2 separate regions of the Homo sapiens genome follow, and region 2 is linked to region 1. The links are contacts of gene promoters, found by promoter capture Hi-C in human tissues and cell types (Jung and others, 2019). All regions are on one chromosome and are shown on one strand. The core of a region is centred on a gene start or on the middle of the fragment in contact, and the rest is flanking DNA. Distances in the headings are between cores, read along the strand shown. Region 1 holds the start of WNK2 (WNK lysine deficient protein kinase 2). Region 2 overlaps WNK2 (WNK lysine deficient protein kinase 2).

Region 1 (6,222 bases), core at 1,795-4,294:
CAGCAGGCTCTGGCTGCCGAGGTCTAACTCAAATCCAGCCTACTGCAGCACCCCTGTTCCATCCACCACCCTGCAGAGGCAGCACCTGAGGGTGCTCCGGTCAGAAGGGCAAGAGCAGGAAGACCGCTCGCCAGAATCAAGAGTCGTCTCCCCTTTCAGGCCCTCTCTTCTCTCTGCTTTCCCTTGCAGCAGGAATGCCCAGCACACCCCAGGACCCCCAGATCACAGCCCCCTGCCCCACCCACTGCCTTTCCTGTACCATCAGAACCTACAGGACCATGAGGGAGGGGAGCTGTTCAGTCCCTCCTAAGGACCTCACACAATGCCACTGACCCCTAACTTGAAAAGCCACATCTCCAAGGCAGAACCAAGGGGTGGTGGAGAGGCAGGTCTCTGGAGCTCTTTGTCTTGGGAGAAAGGCTGACGACAGGTCGACACCCACCGAATTATCCAGGCTTGCACACACACGCAGGCCACCCTGTCGGGGCCGGAGGATATAGCAATTGAATCCCACTTCTGAGTCAAAAATGCAAGAGTCCCGCAGTGTGGCCAGCGGCCCCAGAACACAGCTTGCCCCAGCTAGCCCCAGCCCCGTTTCAGGCCTGGACTGGACAGCCAGCTAACTTTACAGGCCAACAGAGTACACTTACACCTCCAGCCGGCACTCTCCCAGACTGGCTCACGCCTGACAGCTGCCCACCTCCAAGGAGGGAGGCCTGTAAACACCCCCTGGACAGGCATGGCCTCTGCTTCCTAGGCTGTCCCAGGACAGCTAAGGTGGCTGTTTATATAATCTTGCAGGGCTGGGGCTGACACCACGGTGATGGCAGGATTATGAAAAATGCATGCCCAGAGCCTCTGCAGCCAAGAAAAACCCCCACACGCATTCTGCATGACTCGGTTTTAAGACCTCTCACACGTCCATTTTGTGAACAAATGGAGCTCTCAGAGCAGCAGAGGCGACTAACCACACTTCCAGGCCTTGCCCAGCTGTCCCCAGAGCTCTACCAGGCACCACCTCTGGGTCACAGGCCCTGGGTCAGAAGAAGTCTCTGCAGGTATCCCTGCTGGGGCAGCCACGGCTTGCTGGACACAGGAAAGTACTAATTTATGGGCAGCCCAGAGCCCCCAAAACACTCTGACTGCACACACCGGGCCTTGAAGCCTCCACACTGTTTTGCAAAGACACAACAGTCCAGACTCCCTGGGTCATTAAAGTAGGTCATCGGGACTGGAGAAGCAGCAGCCTAAGAGACACAGCCTCCGAGGCCCACTCTCCAGGACCCTCTCTACGCCCACAGCGTGCACACTTACACCAAACGCACAACAGAGGCCTGCCCTCGCCACCAGCTGACTCACAAACCGCAACCTGCGCACGGACACAGCCAGGCCCCACATGCCGTCCGCACACCTGGTATGCATCCTGCCAGCCATCCACACAGAGGGTGACACACATGGAGCCCCGCCGCCCCCAGGGCTTCTTAAGGCCAGGCGCAGGAGCAAGGACAGGCCCAAGGACGCACTCGCGGACAGACCCTGCGGAAAGCCCCCTGCGGGCTGGGGCACCCTCACCTGCAGCTCACACCAGGCCACCTCCACCCAGGTCTCCGTGTCCAGCCCCTTGTAGACCGTCTTGAAGGAACCGCGGCCCAGCTCGATGTCGAACTTGAGGAAGCGGCCGTCCAGAGAGGTGGCCACGGCCTTGAGGTCGTCCTCGTCGTCCTCCTCCTCTTCGGGCTCGTCCCGGCGAGTGCGCCCGGGCTCAGGCTTCGCCTCGGCCGCCCCCTCATCCTCCTTCCTCACGGTCGCCGCCGCCTCCTCCCTGGGGCCGCCGTCGGGGGCAGGCGCGGTTTCGACAGCGGCTGCGATGGGGTCCGGGCCGGGCTCCTGCGTGCCCACGGGCTCGGGGCCGGCGTCCGCGGGGGCTCCGGGGGCTCCCGGCTGCGCTACCAGCGCTGCGGGCGCGGGGGCGGCGGGGCGTCCGCGGGCGCGCTCCGCGATGAGGCGGCGCGTCTTGCAGAGCAGAAGCACCCGGCGCTGCAGGGGCTGCGGGGGCTGCGGGCCCGGCGCCTCGGCTGCCTCCAAGCCCGGCGGCTCCTCCTGGTCCGACTCTACCACGCTGCGCCGCAGAAAGCGCTGGGGCCCCGGCCGCGCCGCCTTCGCCCGAGGCTCCGCCATGCCCGCGGGCCCCGCGCCGCGCCCGGGCTCCATCAGCGTGCCGGGGACGTCTCGGCGGCCGCCATCGCCGTCCATCTCTGTGGGCCAAGGACACACAGGCCCGCGTGAGCGCCGGCCCTGCCGCACCTGCCCAGGCCGCCGGATGAGACAACGCCGCCCTAAGCCCGCAACCTGCCCAGCCCCGGCCGCGGAGAGAGCCTGCGGGGGCCGTCTCTGGGGGCCCTGGGAAAGGGGGGCTGCAGACGGGACCAGAGGCTTGGGTTGGGGAGGAGGGGTCCGTGCCCTGCTCAGCCCCAGGCTGCGGAGAGGGACGGGCCTGTGGTGTCCCTGGAACCCTGGGAGAGAGGACCTGCTAGGGTGTCCCTGAGGGCCCCGGAGGCCGGCAGAGGGATCTCGCGCCCTGCCCAGCCCTGGCCCAGGAGGGTTCTGCTAGGCTGTCCCGGAGGCAGCTGTAAAGGGGATAGGGAAGCCCGGGGGTGGGAGGAAGGCAGTGGCCCGGCGGCGGCTCCACAAAGGACGCGGGCCCGGGGCGCGGGAGGGGCGCGCGGGGAGGGGGCTGCAGCGCCGCGGCGCGCACACAAAGGCGGCGAGCGGCGTTGAGGGGAGGCTCGGCACTCACAGGGCGAGCGGACGCCGTCCATGCCCGCGGCCCGGCGGCCAGGGCGTGCGAGGCGGGAGAGATCACGCTTCGAGGACGGGGTCCGAGTTCCGGGCGAGGTCCGCGCTGGGGTGGGGGCCGTGGCGCCGCTCCAGCTCCTGCGCGCTGCTCTCTCGGGCCGGGCCACTGCGGGGCCGCGCTCCCGCGTGCTCCTGCCGGCTTCGCGCGGCTCCGCTCCCGCACCGGCTCCGACCCGGCGCGCGGGGAGGGCGGGGCTCCGTTCGCCCCGCCCCGGACCGGCGCAGGGGGCTGGGCCTGGCACGCCCACCTGGCTGCGGACGGGCTGGCTGACTGGCAGGCGCGCGCGGCCACCTGCGGGCCGGCTACCTGGGCTCCCACCCGCGGTTCTTTGCTCGAGGTAGCGCTCCTGTCCTCTGAAGTTCTTTGGAACGCCCCGCAGGGCTGTCAGCTGCGGAGGACCCCGTTTCTTCCTGAGAGGAGGCAGCAGGCTCAACGCCTCAGCACGCCGCAGCCCGGCGCGCTAGACCTCAAGGCCCTGTGCCAGGACAGAATGGGCAGGCTAGGAAGAAAAGGACCAGGGGTACCGCCGCCCTCGGGAGCCCAGCCTGGGGCTAAGCCTGGTGGGGCTCAGCGTGTCCTTTCCTGCCCTCACTTCACCACCAGGAACCATGAGGACCTCATCATCACCCAGGGAGGCACTGGTGATCATTATGCCCATTTCACAGTCTAGAGCAAACTGAGGCGCCAAAGGCAGAAGTTATATGCTCTAAATCCCAGAACTTTCAAGACCGAAGCTGAGCTGGAATGCCTTGGATGGGATATGGAGAGGCTTCCAGAAGCCCCTTGACCCAAAGTGTTCTTCCTTCCCACCTCTGCCAGATGCCACCTCTCCCGAGAAGTCTTCCATGATCTCTAGCTCCTTCCTCCTCTAGACCCCCACGGACAAGCCCTCTCTTGGGCGTCTCTGGCCCTAATGCAGCAGGTGACCTGTGTCAGTAACCATACTGCTAAGTTCTGAGCCCTGCTCCAGGCAATGCCCTGAGCTAACACTTCACCCTTACCCCAGCCTCCATGATCCTAGGTGAGGAAACTGAGGCACAAGGGAGATACCAGAGTATTCTCATCTCAGTCCCCATCCCACTGGGCTGGCACCCCCATCAGATACACACACACTTCCAGAGATGAAAAGATGCTTGTGGGCCTGTAGGCCTTGGAGCCCCTGGCACAAAATAACTCATGTGGCATAAAAGCCAGCAGAGGCGATATCTCACCTTCACAATGTAGAGGGAAGAATATGCCAGGCCAACTGTTACCCAGAGAAGCAGGACTTCCTGGAGCCCCGCTGGGCACTGGCACTGGCTGAAACTAATTTGTGAGGGGCAACAGTGAACATCCCTTCCCAGCTCTGGGTTCAGCAATGCCACCCTGTAGCCTGAAGTCAGCAATGCTGGGAGTATTTACACTGCGGAAATTGGCAAACACCTCAAATCAGGACTTTTCTCCCCAGAGAGCCAGTGGTTAAATAGTGTGCTAGGTGTAGGGCTATGCATTTGGCACTTGCCTGTTATTTATATAATCTAATCTACCGTGTGAGACAGGCATTCATTCCGGGGCTCAAGTCCGCTGGCATGAGCCCAGAGCTCACACGAGGAGGAGGCCAAACAGCAGACGCCAGCTCTGCAGGACAGAGAGGCCTGAGGGACAGGGATCTAAGTTGCATCTCCTGGGGCAGGAGTCTTCCAGGTAGAGGTCAGGGGTGGAAAAGGATCTTTTCTGTCTTCCCTTTGGAGGCTAAAGACCCCCCAACCTTGCCCCTAACCAGCTGAGTGAACTTGGGCAAGTCCTGGTCCTTCCTGAGCCTCAGTATCTGGCCCTGCAGAGTGGGCTGATCATCCTGACTTGCCCACCTTAAAAGGCTGCCAATTCCTTGTAGATTCAGTCAATCTAGGAAGGGCACCAAGTCCACAGACCTGTTCATGATGGGTGTGTTCAAGCCTATCCAAGGGAAAACCAGGATGGGACAGAGCTAAGCGTGTTCTGAGACCAGCACACACCTATCTGGCCTCCTCCTGCTCCCAACAGGCCACACTGGCAGTGTGTGGGCAAAATACCTGCCAGCATCGGAGAAGGTTCATCAGCACCCATGGCTGCTGCCCACCCACACTTGTACACATGCGTGGGAAAGGATGGCTACACCCACAAATCAGCAGGGAGCAGCCCAGGCTGTGGGGAGTGGGGGACAGCCTGTCCCTGAGAGAGTACTGTGTGCTCTCTGAGCCCTTGGGGTGAATTCACGCATCTCTGCTTACACACCTCCCATGGTGGAGAGCTCATTCTCTCTGCCAACCCATGACCATTAGGGTACACAGCTAAGTCAGTAGTGGACAGGTCACAGTTTCCTCTGCAAGGAATCTCAGGCTGGGCTCAGGAGCAGCTCCTGGGATCCTGGCAGATGGAGCCTGAGGGATCCTTGGACAGACCTTGGAAGTCAGGACTTCACAGCACTGGCTATATGCCCTTTGGCAGGTCACTGGATATCTCTGAGCTTCCATCTCCCTGCTGCTAAGACGGGGAGTATAAATACTGTAGTCTGCTTTACTGGGTGTCCTGAGGCTGCATGATCCAGGGTCATGATGCCAGCATTTGTCTTTTGGAGGTTTGTTTTTTGTTTTCTGCTTTTGTTTTTGTTTTTTTGAGATGGAGTTTCACTTTGTTGCCCAGGCTGGAGTGCAGTGACGGGATCTCAGCTCAGCTCACTGCAACCTCTGCCTCCCAGGATCAAGCAATTCTCCTGCCTCAGCCTCCTGAGTAGCTGGGATTACAGGCGCCCACCACCACGCCCAGCTAATTTTGTATTTTTAGTAGAGATGAGGTTTCACCATGTTGGCCGGGCTGGTATCGGACTCCTGACCTCAAGTGATCCAACCACCTCAGCCTCCCAAAGTGCTGGGATTACGGGGCAGCATTTGTCTTCGATGTTTAGAACAGATGAGTACATTGAGGTCTTGCCCAGAGATTTTTCAACTTTAAGTAACTTTCTCAAGGCCTCAGAGTGGAGACAGTGACCTCTACCCACAGCTATCACCTTAGCTTCCACAATGCCAGGGAGCCCCTTTGGTGAAAAAAGTTTCTCCCAAGTCCAGGCTATGCTCCAGCCTACCCAGCCAGTAGGCACGTGCAGGCACACACCTGCTCCATGCAGATGCAGTTCCAGGAGCTGGGCCTCAGCAAGCAACAGGACCATGGTTTCAGTTTGCTCATCTGTGAGATGGGCATAATGGTCATGCTCAACAGTCTTGGCAACAAAAGGCATTCAACAAATGCTCATGAAAGAAGGGAGGAAAGGAGATGGGGCTAGCTCCACTGCCTCTGCTCACATCAGGGCCCATTGAGGGTCACTGGCTAGAAGGAAGAGCAGGGTCTAG
Region 2 (6,222 bases), core at 1,154-3,653, 53 kb before region 1:
GGAAAAACATTAGGCCTCCCATTATGCAAATACAGCCCCTGTGGATGTGCTAGCCAGCTTTCAATTGTCAGAAGACACAACTGAAACATTTTAGTGTTTAGTCCTGGGTAGGTCTAAAATGGACACAGAGGCGGAGCCCCCCACGCTCTGAGCTCCCTGTGCCCAGTGCCATGAAGCAGTGACCTTTTCAAGGGGGCTTCCTTCAGGATGCTGGCCAGATGACAGAGAGCAGAGCAGAGGGTGAGCTGGAGGAGAGTGAGGACCTGCAGAACTGGGGGGGCCCCAGCCAGACCCAGCCTCGAAGGCTCTTTGCAGGGATCCGGGAGGGCGGGCCACAGGGTGTTGCCATGGTGACCACTTCGGGGCTCTGCAGGGCTTGGCCACCCAAAGAAGCCTCCCTAACCACTAACCTATAACCCCCTTTACCCTATAAATGGAACCACACAGCACGCACTCTTTGGGGCCTGGCTTCCTCTGTGTGTGCTCCAGAGTCACCTGTGTAGTTTCGAGTATCCACAATCCATCCCTGCTTACTGCTGAGGGGTGTCACGTCAGATGGTGGGTGTACTCCAGTGTGAGGGGGAGGGAAGGCTGAGGAAGCACCCCCAGCCTTCCACCTGACCAACAGGGAAGGACAGGCCCTGCTTGGAGGTGGGGAGCCGGCTTTGTGGAGCGGTTCCAGGCCTGCTATTTTTGAGAAGGGCCAAACAACCCAGTCCATGAAATACACGTCAGGGCTCCAAATGGAGGCCCACACCTAGAGCCACTGGCGTGGGGATGTTCTTCAAGGCATGGGAGTCATGCAGAGAGGAGCAGAGAGGCTGGAGAGAAGCCCCAGGTGCTCAGATGCTACAGGCTGGGTCCTGGAGGAGCAGTCAGCCAAGGACAGGACTGTCCTCAAAGCCAAGGAGGGGGCTGTCCCCAAAGCCAAGGAGAGGGTTTCCAGATGGCCAACAAGGACGTGAGGGCCTGGCCTCCTGGCCTGGTGTCACCCACACGCACTCAGGGCCGACATGCTCACCAGCCCCTGCTAACGTGCCCCAGACACCCTGGCCTGAGCCTGCCTGTCTTGAAGTCCCCTCATCAAGAACACAGCTCTCAATGCAAGCTGGAATGAGTTCAGCTGGAGATGGACCCCAGAACCCAGCCCTTCAGGGGAACTCACCTTTCCTCCTTGTTTTTGCAGATACACTCCCCAATAATCTCCTTGATTTCAGGATCGTGCACTTTCTCAAAGCTGGCCGGCTTGATACCCTGACAGGGAGAGAGCAGAGTTACCTGACCCGATCGGCTGCCGGAAGGCGAGGCCTCCACCACAGTGGGAGGAACTCCCACTCCCAGCCACGGCAGGACACGGGCACTGGACTTAACCTGCACAAACTACTAGAAAACTGGGCAAAATATGTGAAACGGATGACAGGGCAGAGCCAAATGCGGGCTCTGGGAGAAAGGGACACAATCTCCCATGGCCCCAGCTCACTGCCCAGAGCAGTTCCCAGACAAGGCACCGTAAACCAGCAGAGCCCTGTGGCCCCACTGAGTTGAGGGGTAGAGCTGAGTTCAGGAAGGCTGAGGAGGCCACAGGCAGAGTTCCAGAAAGAAGAGAACATACAGCAAAAAAAAAAAAAAGAGCCCCAAGTATCTGCACCTTGGTCCCCTCCAGCCTTTGCTGAGGACCAGACCACAAAACCACATGTGCATTGTCAATGCCACAGGGCCGGGTGAAGAACCACAGGGAGCTGCAGGCAGGGCAATTCACAGAGTTCACACAGGTCAGGATGTGTACAATGTACAGCATCCAATCAAAAATTACTAGAAATGCTGAGATGCAAGAAAATGTGACCCACGACCTTGCAGAAAAGCCAGCCAACAGAAAGAGACCTACAAGTGAGAGGGGCTGCAACTTGTAGGCAAGCAGGTTAAAACTCTTTACAGATACATACAAGCAGTAAAGGAAAATGAACATAAAAAATGAGAGATAAAAACAGAACCAAATAGAACTCGAGATGAAAAGCCCATCTGAATCGAACACTTCACCGCAGCAGACTGACAGCAGATTACACACTGCAGAAAAAAGACGAGTGAACCTGAAGATGTGATGCAGCAGAGAAAGATGGTCACTGAGGCTCTATTCTGCTCATTTCAGAATCTGAAATGCTACCAAGGTCACATATGCACATGACATTCATAAAACTGGAATCCCAAAAAAGATAAGGGGACATAAAAAAAGACTTGAAGAAATAATGGCTGAAAATTTCACAACTTTGATGGAAACTCTAAGCCCATAGATGAAGCGAGATAAAGCCGAGCTGGGAATAAATTGAAGAATTCTGTGAAACCGCTGCAATTCCCTTCCAAATCTCCCCTCCCCACTGCTTGAAGCCAGGAGCCTGGTCTCCTACCATTCAGAACCTTCTTGGGTCACCCTACTTCTGTCAAAGCCACCATCACCCCGGCCACAACACACTGCACACCTCCACCTCAGCTGCAGAATTTGATACTGGGGTTAACACCTCAAATGCAGCAGTCAGTCTCTGGAAAGGTGTTGATCAGAGCTTCACCGAGCCTCCCAAGTAGGGCCACGAGGGCCCCTGTTCCAGGAGGCTAGTAGAGGCAGCGCCATGATGCGGTGGATGGGATGCCTCCTACAGAGCCGGGCCTTTCTAACCACACCTGGGCTTCCTCCCCACACCTCCTCCTTGAGGGTGCAGGAGCACTATTTGTGGTCACTGCTGCTGGCCAAGGGCCAGGCCATGCGGCTTTGTTGCGGGGGGGTGCGGGTGGCAGCCTGAGGGACAGTGGCTCCTCACCCAGCTGATGGCTGTGCATGAAGGGAGCAGAGGGCAAGCCCTGCAACCGGACTCAGAAGCAGCAGGGCGGGGCCAGGTGCTGCTTGCAATCTGCTAGGTTGTTTTGTGTTGGAAGTGGAGTAAGACGGTGTATGAGCAACTAATTTTAAAAAATTTTAAACACAATGAGGGTACCAACTATCACGTTCTTTCTCCTTCAACACGATTTAGCCTTCAAAAGCTTCACCTGACTCTTAATATAGAGAACATAAAGCATAAATTTTCCCAAGGTCAGGGAGGAGGGTGGGGGCACGCCCACCTGCCCTGGGTGCTGGAGCCCCCAGCCTGGGGCAGACACAGGAGTGAAGAACCTAAGGGCTCTGCCCAGTAGTGTACACCCCCAGGGTCGAGGAGCACCACCAGCCCCTGGGACAGCTTCAGGACAGACCACCATCCACCCTCCACAGTGAACCCAGGGGCCCTCCCATCCCACACCAGCACCCCAAGGCCTGGCAAATGGAGCTCTTAATCTCTGGAGCGCCCCACTTCCTCCTGCTGCAGACCATCCCTGCCTCCCTGGAGGGCCGCTGCACACAGCCAGCAGGTCCTGACACTCCTTCCAGTACCCACGGAAAACTGTGCACCTGTCTGTGAAGTTTCTGACCCAGGCCCACAGGTGAGTCAAGGACTCTGTCTGCCCTCCCACTTCCTCAGGGGCACACAGGAGGGGCTCAGAACAACCAAGTGACCGATGATTTACAACAACCAAGGGACAGAAATGCAGGTAATCTGCAAGGAGGGCTCGGGATGGAGGGATGGGTCAGAGTGAGGCTGTGCAGCTGCTGAGGACCACAGCCCCTGGTGCACCTGCAGAAGCAGCCATGGCCCCGCAGAGCAGCACTGAGGGGCAGCGCGGCCCCACCCAGTCAGGTGGCATGTGGAGACAGCAGGGACTGCAGGGATCAGGGCAGCCTGGGCCCTCAGTGCAGACGCCGCATGTCAGGGACAGCTCTGCAGGCCCCTGGGCTTCACAACAAGACGGGTGGTGCAGAAAACAGGCACAGAAAGCCTTGGCCTGGCCATTCCATTTCCAGATGTTCTGTTTGCATTCCCTCCACCCAGTGGGGCCACCACAGAGGGAGGACAAGACAGATCTGTTTATGCAGCTGAAGCCGTCCGATTAAAGAAAAAAATCACAGCGACAGCAAAACAGGGATTAACGTTCCCAGCTGCCTGGCGCTGACGACTGCCTAGAGACACACTTGGTGTAGGAGTGACTGGTTTAGCTGAAAAAGAAATCAAACCATTGTTTCAAAATGAAGAAGATAGGAAAGCAGGCAGCCATGGGCGGCCCAGAGTGTGAGCACTGGGGATGGGTGGCCTAGGCACGCCTCCAGGCAGGGGGCTATGGTGAAGCTCCAGCCTCTCTGAGCCTCAGTCTCCCCACCATCCCTGCTGTGAGAGCGACAGCCTCCATGGGTAAGCACTGCCCACAGCACCCCATGCACCACCATCCCTTCAGGTAGGAGACCTTGAGTAACCACCCCGCTACTAAGCCTCAGTTTCCCCCTCTGTAAAATGGCCAATCTCCTCAGTTTCCCCCTCTGCAAAATGGCCAAGCTCCTTACACAGCTGCCAGGATGGCTTTACAGAGCCACATGGAGCCCAGCCCAGGGTACGGCCCAAGGCCTCTGTGTCCTTATTAATTAACCAAGGGGCCAGGTGGACTCACACAGGTGACCTTGCGGTAGATCTGGGCCGCATTCTGGCACTCCGAGTAGGGGTACTCCGAGGTGGCCATCTCCAGCATGCACATCCCAAAGGCATAGACGTCCACGGACTCATCGTAGTGCTCCTCGTACATCTCGGGCGCCATGAACTCGGGAGTACCTGTGCCCGGAAGCAACAGACGCAGCTGTCAGCTGGCCACGGGCCCAGGAAGAGCTGGAGCCAGTGTCCCGGGAGCTTTGGCTGCCCAGAACCCCATGTCCCCTCCACATCCCATGGCACACTCAGAACACCTGGACCCCAGGGCCAGCCCTGCCCCTCACTTGGGACACAGGTGTGCTTTACAGACAGGGTTCCAAAAGTTCCACCTGGAACCACAGGAGTCCAGGGTTAGAAATCAGGTGACAGAGCCATCCCCTGCTCATAAGCTGGGAGACTATGACTTCCCAGGGGACGGGGTCCGAGCCTGGAAGGAGGCAAAACCCTGAGTACGCCCTCGCCTGTGGACACTATGATCCTGCCACAGGCTCGGCCGCAGCCACGTTCAGAAACCCTGGAGCAGAAAGAACTTGGGTTGCTACGGAGCTACCTAAAGCCACAAAACCCCTAAATGTCCCAAAGTGGGGAAAGGCTGGGTACACTCAGCCCACCCCTACAAGTGTCACGCAGCATGTACAACAGTCAGCATCACTGAAGACAGTGTCCCTGAATGAGGGTGGGGTAGAAAATGGTACCCACCTGACAGAACCACAGAGTTGCTAAGATGGGAACTGTATGTGGCTCCTAAACACAAGAGATGCAAAAACAGTGTCTTCACTGAATTTTTAAGGACATGGCAAAGTTATGATAGGCTGAGCAAAATGAGCATGAGGCTAGACGTGCTGGCTGGCCTCACCTATGCAAAACCAAACCCCCAGGGCAAGATGATGTCTGCAGGGGGCGAGGGCTGATTTTTATTTTACTTATATTGGTCTGGGGTTTCTCTATTCTCTATAATAAGCTTTAGCTTTCATAATACAGCAACTGTAAAGGCCTTTTTAATAAAATAAGTCCGGTTGCATGTCTGTCGCGCTGAATGCAAAGAAAGGGACTAGAGACTTCAGTACAGCTGCTTTTAACGTCTGGATGTTTGTTGACTTTGGAAGGTCTTCAAAATTTCTAGTTTCTTTTTAAAAGCTCAAGCTAACTAATTAGTGCATTTTAAAAGCACGTTTTGTTTACCCGTCATTTCAATTTAAAATGTGTTACTTTTTTTTTTTTTTTTTTTTGAGACGGAATCTCACTCTGTCCCCCAGGCTGGAGTGCAATGGTGCAATCTTGGCTCACTGCAACCTCCATCTCCCACCCAGGTTCAAGCAATTCTCCTGCTTCAGCCTCCCAAGTAGCTGGGACTACAGGCGTCTGCCGCCATGCCTGGCTAATTTATTTGTATTTTTGGTAGAGACAGGATTTCACCATGTTGGTCAGGCTGTTCTCGAACTTCTGACCTCAAATGATCCGCCCGCCTCAGCCTCCCAAAGTACTGGGATTAGAGGTGTGAGTCACTGTGCCTGGCCACTCTTTTTTAAAGTTAACATTTTGGATAAAAATTGGGACAAGAATATGGTTTAGATTTCAGTCTTAGGCACACAGAACTCTGGAAGAACCCATGAGAAACAACAGGAGCTGAGTGGAGGGGCCTGACGCCGGGAACTTTTATTCTTTT

Evidence for each region. Contacts are between HindIII fragments. The study calls those that stand out against the background at their distance.
Region 2: a fragment that was not itself captured here is called in contact with the fragment with the promoter of WNK2 in region 1 in 1 of the 25 tissues and cell types used here (bladder).

Annotation. Positions count from the first base shown.
Region 1 is chr9:93,180,961-93,187,182 of GRCh38, reverse strand. It overlaps WNK2 (WNK lysine deficient protein kinase 2), which reads right to left and starts at 3,044. Exons shown (of 30, transcript NM_006648.4): 1 at 2,798-3,044; 2 at 1,573-2,255. The coding sequence starts at 2,253. RefSeq lists an enhancer at 41-1,006. The HindIII fragment of the contact is 13,924 bases long and covers 1-6,222 here.
Region 2 is chr9:93,233,265-93,239,486 of GRCh38, reverse strand. WNK2 (WNK lysine deficient protein kinase 2) reads right to left here. Exons shown (of 30, transcript NM_006648.4): 5 at 4,522-4,679; 6 at 1,166-1,254. Among named protein-coding and RNA genes, the nearest start is that of WNK2, 52 kb to the right of the region's middle. RefSeq lists an enhancer at 935-1,435. The HindIII fragment of the contact is 3,742 bases long and covers 533-4,274 here.